Regions from separate parts of the Homo sapiens genome. Here regions 2 and 3 are each linked to region 1. The links are contacts of gene promoters, found by promoter capture Hi-C in blood cells and fetal thymus (Javierre and others, 2016). All regions are on one chromosome and are shown on one strand. The core of a region is centred on a gene start or on the middle of the fragment in contact, and the rest is flanking DNA. Distances in the headings are between cores, read along the strand shown.

What was found. Contacts are between HindIII fragments. The CHiCAGO score rates a contact against its expected background, and 5 or more counts as called.
Region 2: a contact is called between a fragment that was not itself captured here and the fragment with the promoter of MRPL21 in region 1, in 2 of 17 cell types (total B cells and naive B cells). The highest score is 5.8, in total B cells.
Region 3: a fragment that was not itself captured here is called in contact with the fragment with the promoter of MRPL21 in region 1 in 1 of 17 cell types (M2 macrophages); the score reaches 5.6 in M2 macrophages.

Annotation. Positions count from the first base shown.
Region 1 is chr11:68,900,573-68,905,090 of GRCh38, forward strand. It overlaps MRPL21 (mitochondrial ribosomal protein L21), which reads right to left and starts at 3,260. Exons shown (of 7, transcript NM_181514.2): 1 at 3,151-3,260; 2 at 1-33. The coding sequence starts at 3,238. IGHMBP2 (immunoglobulin mu DNA binding protein 2) reads left to right here and starts at 3,319. Exons shown (of 15, transcript NM_002180.3): 1 at 3,319-3,466. The coding sequence starts at 3,381. RefSeq lists enhancers at 3,133-3,860, 3,292-3,411, 3,742-3,801. The HindIII fragment of the contact is 5,018 bases long and covers 1-3,715 here.
Region 2 is chr11:68,610,835-68,615,163 of GRCh38, forward strand. PPP6R3 (protein phosphatase 6 regulatory subunit 3) reads left to right here. Exons shown (of 24, transcript NM_001164161.2): 24 at 2,232-4,329. The coding sequence ends at 2,283. Among named protein-coding and RNA genes, the nearest start is that of GAL, 72 kb to the right of the region's middle. The HindIII fragment of the contact is 172 bases long and covers 1,867-2,038 here.
Region 3 is chr11:68,574,857-68,579,240 of GRCh38, forward strand. PPP6R3 (protein phosphatase 6 regulatory subunit 3) reads left to right here. Exons shown (of 24, transcript NM_001164161.2): 14 at 1,102-1,187. Among named protein-coding and RNA genes, the nearest start is that of GAL, 110 kb to the right of the region's middle. The HindIII fragment of the contact is 1,884 bases long and covers 785-2,668 here.

The DNA.
Region 1 (4,518 bases), core at 2,010-4,509:
AATTGAACCTTCGAGAAGCAGACCAAAGGGAGGCTGAGGGAAGAAGAGAAACACAGATCATTACCATTAATACTACAAATGCAAACTGCCCTTTATGATGCTAAATGCACAGCTGCTGCTCCTGGTACATGGTATGAACCACTGCATGACAGCCTGCCCACAGAAACACCTAGGTGAGCAAAACTACAAGAACGTCACTTACAGCTACTGGTTATATGTGTTGAGATCAGTTAGCCACATCATCTACAAGCGCCTGAGACCAGAACCACCCGTCCACTAACTCATGCCTTGACTAAGTGCCTGGTAGGTTCAGACTCTGATCTGTGCCCAAGCGTGGGAGCAGCCTCCAAGATGGCCCTGCTGGGCCCCGCCTCCTGCTATTCTTACCCCTGTTAGCCCCCTGGGAGTGGCCTGTGTGTCCAACAGCTAGTGACAGACATGCTAGCACGTGGCTTCTGGGATGAGGTGATAACCAACTGGGACTTCCATCTTGGATGCCTGTGCTCACCCTTTCTGATCTCTGGCCTTAGGGCTGCCCTGCTGTGAGCAGCCCTACCTAGAGGTCCACATGGCGGGGAACTAGGCCTATCGCCAACACCCATGGGAACGACCTTGCAGGTAGATTCTCCAGCCGCTGGCGCAGTGGAGTCTTGAGATAACTACAGCCCCTGCAGACTTGCTTGCTGCAAGCTAAGACCCTGAGCCAGAACCAGCCACTTAAGCTGCTTCTGTGTTCCTGGCTCTCAGAACTGGTGTGAGTTAATAAATGTTTTAAGCTGCTAAGTTTTGGGGTAATTTCTGATGTAACCGTAGATAACGCATACACCAGGAATACACCAGGAAACAAAGACATTCAATCTACTGAGAAGACAGGGGATCAAAATAAGTGCTTAGGTGTAAAAAGCAGAGAACAGTTTCTCAATAACCACTTTTAAAGAAACTCAGCTATAATTTACACACCATAAAAACCACCTTTTTAAAGTTCACCCATTAGCACCAGCTCCCCATTTGCATCTCCTCGGCTGCTTTCTCCTCTCCTCTCCCATTTGGGCATCCGGGGCTCAACCCTTGGCCTTGACCTCCTCTCCGCCCATGGCCATTCCTCTGGTGACTGCATCCAGTCCGATGGATTTAAACACCCCCAATGTGCTGGTGACTCCCAAGTTTACACCTCCAGCCAGGGCTTCTCTCCTGGTTTTGCATACCCACCTATCTATCTGCCTTAGCCACTCGTGTCTGACGAGCACCTCACACCTCCAGAGGCTCCTCATTTCTTCCCATGCCTGCTTCTCCCACACTCCTCCCTCTCACATGAGGGCAACTTCATCCTCCCAGTTGCTCAGGCCCCAAACCTCCATCAGTTTTGACTCTTCTCTCGCACACTACTCAGTCAACCCATTGGCAAATCCATCCCACTATTAAAAACTTAGCAGGCTTCTGTACCTAATTTGCTTCTAGCTTTGTTTTTGGGTCCCCAGGGAACAAACAGTCTCCTTCCTCTCCCACAGGATTTCCTTTAGGTAGTCCTAGAGACTGTGACTGTGTACTTCCATCACGTCTCCTTTGCTCACTCTTCAAGGCCCCAGCTGCTCACTGTTTTGGTCACCTTGTCTCTACTCGCTTCACTGTGTGTCTTTCTCTCCTAATGCGTGAGTCTGTACTTGAACATAGCATTGGAGGGGTGGTTTCATGTAGGTAGGTAGAATGGAGTAAGTCCCACTGCTTTTGTAAAAACTTTCCTGCCTACTTAAACCTAAGTTTTATTATGGAAAATGTCAAGCATACAAAAGTAAAGAGAACAGAATAGTGAACTCTCTCAATTATCCCTTTCCAGGTTCAACAGTTACCAACTCATGGCCAATTTTGGCATCTACATTGCCTCTGGCCCAACTCTGTGATTATTATTAATTTCTTAATAGACTTTATTTTTTAGCACAGTTTTAGTTTCACACCAAAATTGAGTGGAAGGTACAGAGAGTTCCCATATGTCCCCTGTCCATGTGCCCACAGCTTCCTATCAACATCCCTCACCAGAGTGGTACAATCTTTACAATTGATGAACCTACATTGACACATCATTGTTATCCAAAGTCCATAGTCTACATTAGGGGTTCACCCTTGGTAGTGTACATTCTATGGATTTGGACAAACTTATAATGACATGTATCTACCATTATATCATACAGAATAGTTTCACTGCCCTAAAAATCCTCTGAGCTCCACCTATTTATCCTTTTCTCCCCCAATCCTCTTACCCCCCATGTAACTTTTTACTGTCTCCTTAGATTTGCCTTTTCCAGAATGTCATAGTGGGAAACATACAAGATGTCCCCTTTTCAGGTTGGCTTCTTTTACTTAGTAACATGTATGTAAGTTTCCTCCATGTCTCTTCATGACTCATTTCTTTTTATTGCTGCATAATATTCTACTGTATGGATGTCCTACAGTTTATGTAACCATTCATCTCCTGAAGGACATCTGGGTTGCTTCCAAGTTTTGGGAATTATGGTACTATTCTTTTAATATCGTCCAATATAGAGTTAGATCCAGTTTTCCATTTTTGGGGGTCATGGTGAGACATGAAACCCAGGTTTAAAACATACATAAACACTCATGCACACAAATACACACTCCAACCATTTTCAAGCAGAGATTTATAGAGTTTTTAACGGACATAACCTTTTTGGAGCCTCGTATCAGCCCAGCGCCTTAAATACGGCTGTTTCTTTTGCAGAATGAGTTCAGATTAGGCGAGGATATCCATCACCATTTTTCAGACCAGCTCGCAGCCTGGGGGCAGTGGTTCAAGCACAGGCTTTGGAGCCGAAATGACTGCGCCTGAAGTACTCTTCTTCCACTTCCCCGCTGTGTGACCCTGGGCACGTTACCTAGCTCCTCTGAGCCTCACTCTTCTCCCCCATAACATAGGGCCTATACCAAAGTTCAAGGGCTATTGTCAGTATTCAGGCTACTAACTGAAGGAATCAAAATCTGAACCTGGGTTCCCCCGACTCCAAAACCCGTGCTATATTCACCACAAATGCGATCAACACACAAGGCACCAGGTCGGACCCAGGCACATACGTGGCGAGACCGCAGGGAGCAGCGCTCGCTCTGCGTCCTCCCTTCCTCCCATATCCCAGGTCTCACCTGCTCCGGGCCCCGAAGGTCTCAGGATGCTGTGGCTGCACGCGGACGCCAGCCGCCCTAAGGTGACCGTCAGGGAAGATGCTGCCATGGCCGCAGCCTCGGCCGGAAACGGAAACGACGCGAACCGCGTGCGTAACGCACGGGCCCGGCGGGGAACACCGGTCCGCTGTAACACCGGCCCGGCGCAGAAGCGGGACGTCGGCTTCTAGGGGCCCAGGCCGGCGGCGGCGATGGCCTCGGCAGCTGTGGAGAGCTTCGTGACCAAGCAACTGGACCTGCTGGAGCTTGAGAGAGACGCGGAGGTGGAGGAGCGCAGGTACGGGAGGCCGCCGGCGCCGCTCCCTCGCGGTCGGTCCCGCCGTGTCCCGGGCAGAGTCTCCGAGGGGCTCGGCCTCATAGTCTGGGGCGGGAATTTCGTCTCCGACCCTTCGAGTCAGGGGCAGGGATCGTCCGTCCCCTGCTTGGCCACCTCCCGAGTTGTCAGTCTCATCACTTCCTGGGCAGCGCGTTCCGTTTGGGGACCCTTAAGAAGCACTTTGATTTCCCGACCCGAGACCCCCCACTAAGCTTACACTCCTGGGCCCTGGCCCCGACCCCAGTTCCACCCGCAGCGAGTTAGCAGCCCTTTCCCTTATTCATTCAGTAAACATGGTTTGCGCCCATTCTCAGTCAGGCCCCGGCAGCATGAGTCAGGTGCACTGGCTGCCCCCGATCCGGCCAGCGGCGGGCTGGGCATAAGCAGAGAGTCCCTTCCCCTCCAGTGCGTCCAGGGCCGGCTGCGTGCGTGTCGCGGGGAAAGAGCCTGGAGGAGGAAGGCCCTTCCCTGGGGAGGGTCATGGTGGCTTCAAGGAGGGAGTGGTGCCTGAAGGAAAATTGGAGTTAAGCTGGTGGGTGCGGAGTAGGGTGGGGAGCCGTCCTGAGAGGTGTGGGGAGCCATGTGAGAGCCGGGCTTGTTTCCGAATGGGACTATTTACTTGTCCAAAACAATCAGAGCTAACACTTACGTACTTTCCATGCGTTAATTCTTTTACACCTCATCCCATGCCAACCCTACAGTGTAAGTTTCTTTTTTTTCTTTTTCTTTTTTTTTTTTTTAGACAGAGTCTCTCTCTGTCGCCCAGGCTGGAGTGCAGTGGCACGATCTCGGCTTACTGCAGCTTCCATCTCCCGGGTTCAAGCGATTCTCCTGCCTCAGCCTCCTGAGTGGCTGGGACTACAGGCGCGCCACCACGTCCTGCTAATTTTTTGTATTTTTAGTAGAGACAGGGTTTCACCATGTTGGCCAGGATGGTCTCGATCTCCTGACCTCGTGGTCTGCCCGCCTTGGCCTCCCAAAGTGTTGGGATTACAGGCGTGAGCCACCGTGCC
Region 2 (4,329 bases), core at 703-3,202, 290 kb before region 1:
TAACCCCCCACCCCCACCCCATCCTCCCCCAAATCTTGCCAGCATTGTATGAGAGCATAACCAGTGGGAACCAGCAGGGAGCACTCTTTGTTGGTCCAAAATCCTGTATTCACAGTGTAGCAAGCTGTTTGTGTTCCTCCTGTGGAAATTGTAGCCAAAATAAAGCCTTTGTTTTTGTGATTAGAAATATTTTTTTTGCATATAAAACAAACAAATTAAGAACTATTTGAGCATGTTGGCTCTAGTGAAGGCTTTTGGGGGAAGAGGCAGGGTGGCCCTCTAGCACTGGGAAGCTGCCTCAACTCTGCTTCTACGGATTGGGCAAGTCACTCTCTTTCTTGGGGTTTCAATGTATTTTTTAATGGTCCTTTATAGGTCTCATTCCCAATCAATTATTTCAGCTCTCTGATTTCTACCTATAAATTTCCTTTATATTGAGGGCTGCCTAGGCAGGATCGTCCAGGTCTATCCCAGTTTGGGGCAGTTGCTTCAGGGGAATATTCTTGGTTTCTCTGTCATAAGGATGCACAAGGCTCTGGAGTCATTTCCTTGGCTTTCTGAGCACAGAAGAATTGTTTGCATAAGGGGAAGCCACTTGCTCTCCTCTGTGGCTGGGAATGCCTGCTCTGAAGAGCCCTGCCCTAACCTGCCGGGCCAAGGGATGGAGGAAAAGATGGGGTCAGCCAGTGGAAGAAGAGGGGCATCACTTGGGTCCATGCCTTTATCCATCTGTCCTTCTTTCCTCTGACACACGTTTGTGTGTGGTGGCCACTGGTCTAGGCCGGGTCATAAAGCTGCAGCACACGGACACCCAGTGGTCTCGGGGCATACTAGAGGCACATTCATCAAGAAGCCACGAAGAAGGGACAGGGGTCCATGTGAGCTGGGGTGCGGGGGAGAGGATCTCTGAGGTGACGTTGGAGTGGGCATTAGGGCAGACCTAGAGTGCGTCCTAGATTGCACGTGTTCTAAAGTGACGTATGACAGCATGGGATATTGAAGCTCACCCGTCTTTCCTGTGTGGTTCCCGTCCCAGCCAGATACCACAGTTCCTTGGATTGGCAGGCGCGCTGTTTCCTGTCACACTTAAAGATCTGCATTGCCACATGATCTCACTTTTCACAGCTGTTTTATCAAGCATGTCCTTTGTGCTTCTGATGTGCTGAGCATGCTGCACACATTATGTACTTATTTCATATGTATACTAGTGAAGCCCTGTGGGGCGTGGGGAGGGTTCTTTTCCCATTTTACAGAGGAGAAAACAGAACTGAGAGGGGCTAAGAAATCTACTTATAAGATCACTCAGCTTGTTTAAGTGAAGGCAAGTTAGTTATATACCAGTTATGTCTAGTTCCAGAAGTCTCGATTCCTATGTCTCTCATACACGGAGCCACCATCAGATGTAAGTAAGTGAGCAGAGTGGATTGTGTGTGCAGAGCTGACTTTTTGGCTCACTGTATAACCAGCAGGTATAAGGCATGAGTAGCATTCTAGCTGTAAATTGTGAATGCTAGTGGAAAAGTGCTTGTGGGCATCCCAGTTACGGCCCTAAGCACCCTTTCCCAAGTCTGCTTGATACAATTTTGGTCAAGCCTTCCCGAATAGGTTATATATTCAGGTTGTAATTTTGGCAGGAAGGCAAAACCTGGACACTTTGTTATATACTGTCCCACCTGTTATTCCCTCCCAGTTTTGAGCCTAACATTTGCTTTGTGGGACATGTTCTTCAAGTGGACACCTTTTTTTTTTTTTCCAGTAGTTTATTTGCAAACCTCCTTTCCTTTCCTTTTTTCCCCCCTTTCCTAGTAGCAGAATCCTGTTTCCAAGTGAAATAGTATGTGGATTCCAATCTGTGGGTCACATAAAAGCTTTCTTGAAGGAGCGGTGAACACATAGCTCCTGAAGGCTCTGGAAGCCACAGTTTATACCCCACTGACCTAGTCACTCCCTGTGCTTCTTGGAGGCCGCGGTGGGGCGGTTCTCCCAGAGCATTTGCTCTGCTGCTGCCCTTGCTGAATGCCTGCTCACCCGGTGATGAAGCTTAGATGCACTCACTCAGATTTTTCTAGAGCTTTTGCTCCATTCATTTACATATCATTTTATTAAAAACTTACTAAGTTCAAAACAATGTTAAAATAAGTTGTCCCTGCCCTTGGGGAGCTCAGCTAAGTAGGTTTTGTTTTTCATATTTCTGCTGCAAGTGCCTCCGATGCCTGTCTGTTGCTCCTTAGGACTGGCCAACCAAGCGCACCAGGTGACACTTCAGTGAATGGCCCTGTATGACGGGTGACGTCTGCTGCTGCTGACTGAGGACTGCAGACCGCCACCACTCAGGGGCTCTGGAGGGGTCAGCTGGAGCCCACCAAGCTGTCACTGCTGCACTCACTCTGCAAGGGATCAGGACCAGCAACCTTTATATTCTAGATTCTAAGACATTGTACAGAGAAATTCAGAAGTGTAAAAATATTGCACATTGACAAATACCAAGAATTTTTGCGTATGTTTATATTGTATTGTTCTAAATAATGGGTAGCCTGTGAAATAAGATCTTGCCACCCATGTAATAATAGTAGTAATACTATAGTTAAAATGGCTGTAAGAATAGTTTTATAAAAGTGAATACACAGATCTATTGTATTTGAAACATAACTTTGACAATTATTAGTGTGACCAAAGTATTAGGCGGTTTTCATACATTTTTCACCTTGTACAAAATTATGAATTCATTTTTCCTCCAGGCCGACAAGGAGTTGTAGAATGAAAATGCCCTCTAAGTGTTATTTTGGTTGTTCTAACTTACAAAAGTGATTTTGAATAAGAAATATTTGGTGTTCTTTTTATAACCAGTTTTTGATTGGTAATTGTTTTCTGTATTGTTTAAAACGGATCAAAAATGTAAGTCTATTGGTAGAGATTAAGTAAAGTATTTATTGCTACATCATAGTTGATAAATTGATGTTATCGTAAAGCCATATGTTCTGTTCAAGTCTTGTTTGCTTGAAATGATTATTCCTACAAGTGAAACACTAGACTATTTGGAGTGTATATGGCTTGTGTTTTGGGATTTTTTTTTTTTTTTTTTGGCTTTTGTTTTTGTTTGTTTTTTTGTTTCATTTGGTAGTTCATCTGCCTTTTAACCCATTCACCAAAATTTACCTTGTTAACAAGCATCACCAATGAACATTTCAGAGCAATCTGCATATTTAACAGACCTAAAATAAATCCTATTAGGCAAGTCAGTTGAAAATGCTCGTGCTGCTAATGGAATTAGAGTGCGTTCATTTTACAGGCTAGTATTTTAAAAGTAGAAATCAAAATCTGGCACCGAAGCATGCTAATTGTTTACTGTACCTTGTGAGGTTTTCACTCATAAATTTAAACCAGTGTATTTTTTTAGAACTGGTTTGTGTATATATATAGTGATTATGGATACTAATTCAATGTAATTTATAATTTTCTATGTCAATACAAAAATACATCACAGCCTTCTCAAACAGCTCAAGCAATATATTGTATATTGCCATATCGTCTGGTGAAAGGGTTAAATTACTTCACCTCTTGCACTTTTAGATGCAAATCAGTTTTTCATTTCTGTAATAGAAAATTATTCACGTATTTTTACATCATTTGTTTTTCCTGACCAGTATTTAAAACCAAAAGGATATTCTGAAAAATGGCCAACAATTTTTTTAGAAGTAGCATCCCAAGCAGCGTGCCTAAACATTACATTGCATATGGAAATAAAAGAATCAAACGTCTAATGCCTTATTATTTCTGATTTCCTTTTTCATTTTAAGTGGTGTGGAGATTCCAGCACTCCCAGGACAGTGGAGTCAGCAGTAAGCCCTGGGACAGGTGGCAAGGGTGGGTCCCTTGACCTTTGCACGCCTCCTCAGGAACCCCCTTTCCCGGGTGAGCCCCTCTCTGAAGAGACTGTCCTTGGGCCTCCTCTGGAAGCAGCACCCCCAGAGGACAGGGCTCCTCCTGCTTGCCTCAGGGCTGCCTGACTTGAATGGCGTTGGACCTCGGGGATTACTGGTAGATAATATGCTCTGGTCTCGCCTGGTGGTGAGTTTTGCCAGCCATGGCCAGGGTTTGGCTCCACTGGTGGCACACGTGGCCTCCGTGGTATGGACCTGGTGGCTTCTCCATCCCACTGTGGCCTCTGTGGTATGGACCTGGTGGCTTCTCCATCCTACCCAAGGTAACAGTGTCTTGCTTCATCCCACTGACTGCTGGGAGAGAGCCTCTGGGACTTTTCTTTGGGGCATCATTTTGTTTTGTCTTTCGTAGCAGGGAAAGGATATGACAATGGGGAGGACAGTTCTT
Region 3 (4,384 bases), core at 477-2,976, 330 kb before region 1:
CCAATCCTGAGACCTATTCTGAATGTGAACAGTCTTTAACATCCATGGTACAGAATTTGTTCAGTTAAAATCATTTCCCAGTGGGTCTTCCATTTTTTCTTAAGAATGTTTGTTTGTTCAAGAGGCTATTCCCTGTTGAATGTGCACTAAAACCACAGTTGTCACCAGGGATGGAAAAAGTGGTGTGTGCCCACTTCTAATTTTGCTTCTTGAGAGAGGCATAAGAGGTATAAGCCTCTTCCTTGGGCCATTTCACCACACAGTTTATCTTTATGTCCTAACTAAGAAGAAATGGCCATGTGATATGACTGAGTTTTTAGATCAGACTTTCCTTTATGGAAGCTGCTTGCCAGGTGGTACATGTGTACACTTCTGTGAGTGTGCACACATGCATGGCTGTTTTAAACCAGAATTATCAGATGACTAGTTAGGCCTCTAAAATTACGTCATGGTTTGATTTTCTCAGAAAAGCAGTTGTTTATCCTTTTCTTTAACATTTCTCTAGAAGGTAGAATTTCACTATTACCTGTGTATCCACGTTGGCCCATGACACAAATATTTAGGAAACATGATCTTAGAGCAATTTGAAAAGCCATACTAGGTTCTGTGGAACATTCATTGGCCAGCTGCCAATGAGAGCATTTCAAGAAAGTGTGCAGGAGCTGTCATTTGCAGCATTTTCTAGACTTAACTTGACCATGGAAAAAGATCCCCCTACCCCCGACACGTTAAACACCTACCACCTTTCTCAGAAAAGCTTGTTGGAAACACACTTTCCAGGTTAAGCTTCTACCAGAGCATTTTCAGAAACTTGTTAAGTTCACAAGCTACCTTAGGGCTCTTGGCCTCATCAAGCCTATACCATTGGGTAGGGGGATTCTGGTTCCTGAAAGTCCATGGGATTTGGGCCTATGGAAGGTTTAATAATTCCATTTCTCTAAGAGCACTGGGCTGGCTGTCACCCAGTTTCTCAGCTGATAGGGCCTGCTCACCATTGATGAACCAGGTGAGTAGGCCCACTTTTATATTACCTGCTTACTTTATTTGTCTCCGTGGAGGTCATTGTGGTGATAATGCTTTTTTGCTTTTCTCACTCTGAAGATCTTCCCGACGAAGTCAGGGAACGATGGGAGACGTTCTGCACAAGCTCCTTAGGAGAAACTAACAAGAGGAACACGGTAGATCTAGTAGGTTTTACAAGGTTACATTTTTATTCTTTCAGTGCTCTTAGCCTTTGCCCATTTATTCAGAAAGATGTAAAAGATCTTCCATTTACCTCAGTAACTGTGAGCCAAAGATAAATTCTTATCTCTTTACCAGGGAGAGAGGTCAGTATTCACAATATTCTTGCCCATTTGTCTAGTCCACTCCTAATTACCTGCCTGGGATGACAGAAGGATATTGAGAAGTCACTGATTTCTGCTCCACATCCTACTTAGTGTCCATTTCCCTCCATGCCCTGCTGCCGAGCACCTCAACAGCCTCTTGCCTTCCTTTCATTCTGCTGGGTTTGTGGCCACATGCCACTGATAACCCTGGGTGCTTAGGAAAGCGAAAGATTCAGTTGGATATTTTTCTGATATTATTGAGTTGAGTATACCCTCGTTTTACATCATTCCCAATGGGGGAATATTTTGTAGATGACTTTGAAACCCCAGCTTTAAAATTTTTTTACCAGAATTGGGACTTTGAGCCAGGGAATAATGGCATTGATAATTTTTTTAAAAATTATATTGGACTTTGGAATGTATTTTTTGGTTTTTAAACACATTTAAGTTTTAAGGTAAGTATTGCTTTTTTCTGCTTTTAAAGATGGGGAAAGCATTTCCTTTTACAAGTACATGCCAGCTGATAGTCGAGGGGTGGCCTTTGCTTAGACAGAAGCAGCACGTGACTCGACATTGAAGTGTTTATGTTTGGCGTTTAATTCTATATTTCAAATTTGGCAGTGGCAGTCTTGAATTTCTAATATGCAGTAACACCTTGACTGTTAGGAATTCAATGATCTGGCAGCCTGAAGCAACAGGGAAGCAGGCTCTGAAAGCCAGAGAGCAGCCACTTGGTCCTCCTGTGTCACTCCCTGGAGGGCTGTGCCCCCTACTTTGTAGATTGCCTAAAAATATGGTCATCTTTTTCCAGACTCCTGACAGAGTCACACTTTTTAAGCGGGGAATAATGATAGAATTAGGAAGTATTAAGAGTTGGAAGAATTATGAAGTTGAGGTAACTATTAAAAGGAAGCTATGTGGGGCCATTTAATTAAAATAGACCTAAGGCCTAATAGCCCGAGTGTCTCTGTGTACCACAGCCCAGCAGAGAAAATGACATTAGTATTGACAGCCCTGGGTCATCAAGGAAGGGTTAAGTCATTTTTAATGAATATTTTACCCATTGTAGATAGATACTCGGACTATCGTTTAACTTGAGTGTTCTGGATAATCAGGGTTTTTTTTGTAGAATGGAATTGTCCTCTCCCATACTGTTAAATCATACTGCTTAATTTTGGAGGTTCCCACGTTGATTCCTTTGCAGGCAATATAGTCTCTTTTAAGGGGACTATTGTCTTGTCTTATAAAGGAATATTTAGTAATCTGATTTTGTTTGGGAAACTTCTTTTAAAATTATCCTTTGATTGGCTTAAAAGTTAGAAGTCAAAAATGTCCAATTAAGCTTGTTACCAGACTTTTAAACAATTGTTTTTATCTTAGGTAACTCAAGCATATTTCTTTTGTGAGCAGTTCTGTAATAAAGAAGGACTTCATTACAATTCAGATAATGCTCACTTACTGTATAGTATGCTGTCAGCAGATCTGCTCTGGGATTGTGTGTAAATGTTACTACATATATCCCCATAGAAGGGTGTGGTCATCCCGCAAAAATAAAACGTTCAGCCCCTGGTAGACTGTGTTAGAAAAAAATTATTTTGGGCTCCATCTGTCACTCAGATTGCGTCTCGGTTCTTCTTTGCTTGCTCTGCTTTTCTGCCATCATACTCGGACTGCATAATCTAAAGTCAAACAAAATCATAAGTTGGCTTATAAAGCAAAAGTGGTTAGATTGATAGGGCCCTTTAACATTACCTATATCCCCTGTTGAGTTAGCCCCACTCCAGAATTTTGCTGTCTGTTGAGACTTTCAGGTGGATCTAAATACTTCTTCAATTCTTTATTCCCGAGCCCTTTCTTAAATACCACTTCCGTTTAGTCTTAAGTCCTTCTGATAGGGAGTTTTGCTTTGTAGTATTGTGAGGGCTACAGCTATTCCAAGTGTTTAATATGCTTATATAGTAGGTCTAGGCACCAAGGAGATTTTAATCGTATCCTCCAGGCCATTCATTTTCCTGTCCAGAATGTGTTCAAGCTGTATCTCAGTGGGGTTGGGTACCATGTTTCAGGAAAATACGCAATTGTAAATATTATTATAAACACAACTTGGTAAATGCAGTGGGCCTTACCCTTGCAAAAGTGACATAGAAAAAGAGTGCCCATGTTTGAAATGTGGTAGTTACACTTGCCTTCTTAACATGCTTGTCACTGGAATTGGTAGTTAAATAATAGCTTGCTTATGCCCTGTTCCCTTTCCCAAATAGATAAGATTAGATACACTGCCTTGACTTCCTTGATTTTAGAATAGCTTGGCTACCTCTCTGGAAGTCATTTCAGGTATATTCATAGAAGTGGAGTCAGCCCAGTTCAGCACCACGTGCTTAAGTTAGTGCATTGTTAACCTGACATGTTATTTTTCTGTTTACAGCAAGGATACATTCATTTATACACTGAACACTTTCCTGTCCTATTGGCTGTGTACCTGAGGACTTGCTCACTTCTTTTGGATAAGCTGTGCCCAGCCCCAGGCTCCTATCACTTCTGTAACATTTTAGTTAAATTCTCTCTGAGATACTCGAAGTGCTTTAATCTTTTGGCTCCATCATACCCAAATACGTGCACAGCAGATTCATATACTCCCTGTGTTTTTATGTTTGGAGTTTATGATGAACAAAAGTTGGTGTTTTAATTATATCCAAAGACCTCTGTGTTTTGACCAAGTCCCCAAACTAAAAATTGGCAAGGATTTAGGTAGAGTGAATTTAGAGAACATAGGACATGTTTTTGTACTGACTTTGAAAAATTTGAGTTTGTTTCATTTTTTGCCCTCTTCCCCAAGGGGGAAAATGTATTTAAAATTGTTGATGCTTCTTTCCCATCATTGACAAGACAGTGTGTAGAAGAAGAGATGTAGAATGATCTGAATGTGTGCCTGTATTAATCACCAGGAGTTTCCGCAGGTTGGGGTGAAACCTGAAAGTGGGTGTTTCTAACTAATCCTAGGTTATGTTGATGCTGGGGGTCCTCAGTGGGACCATACTTTGAGGATCAAGGAATAA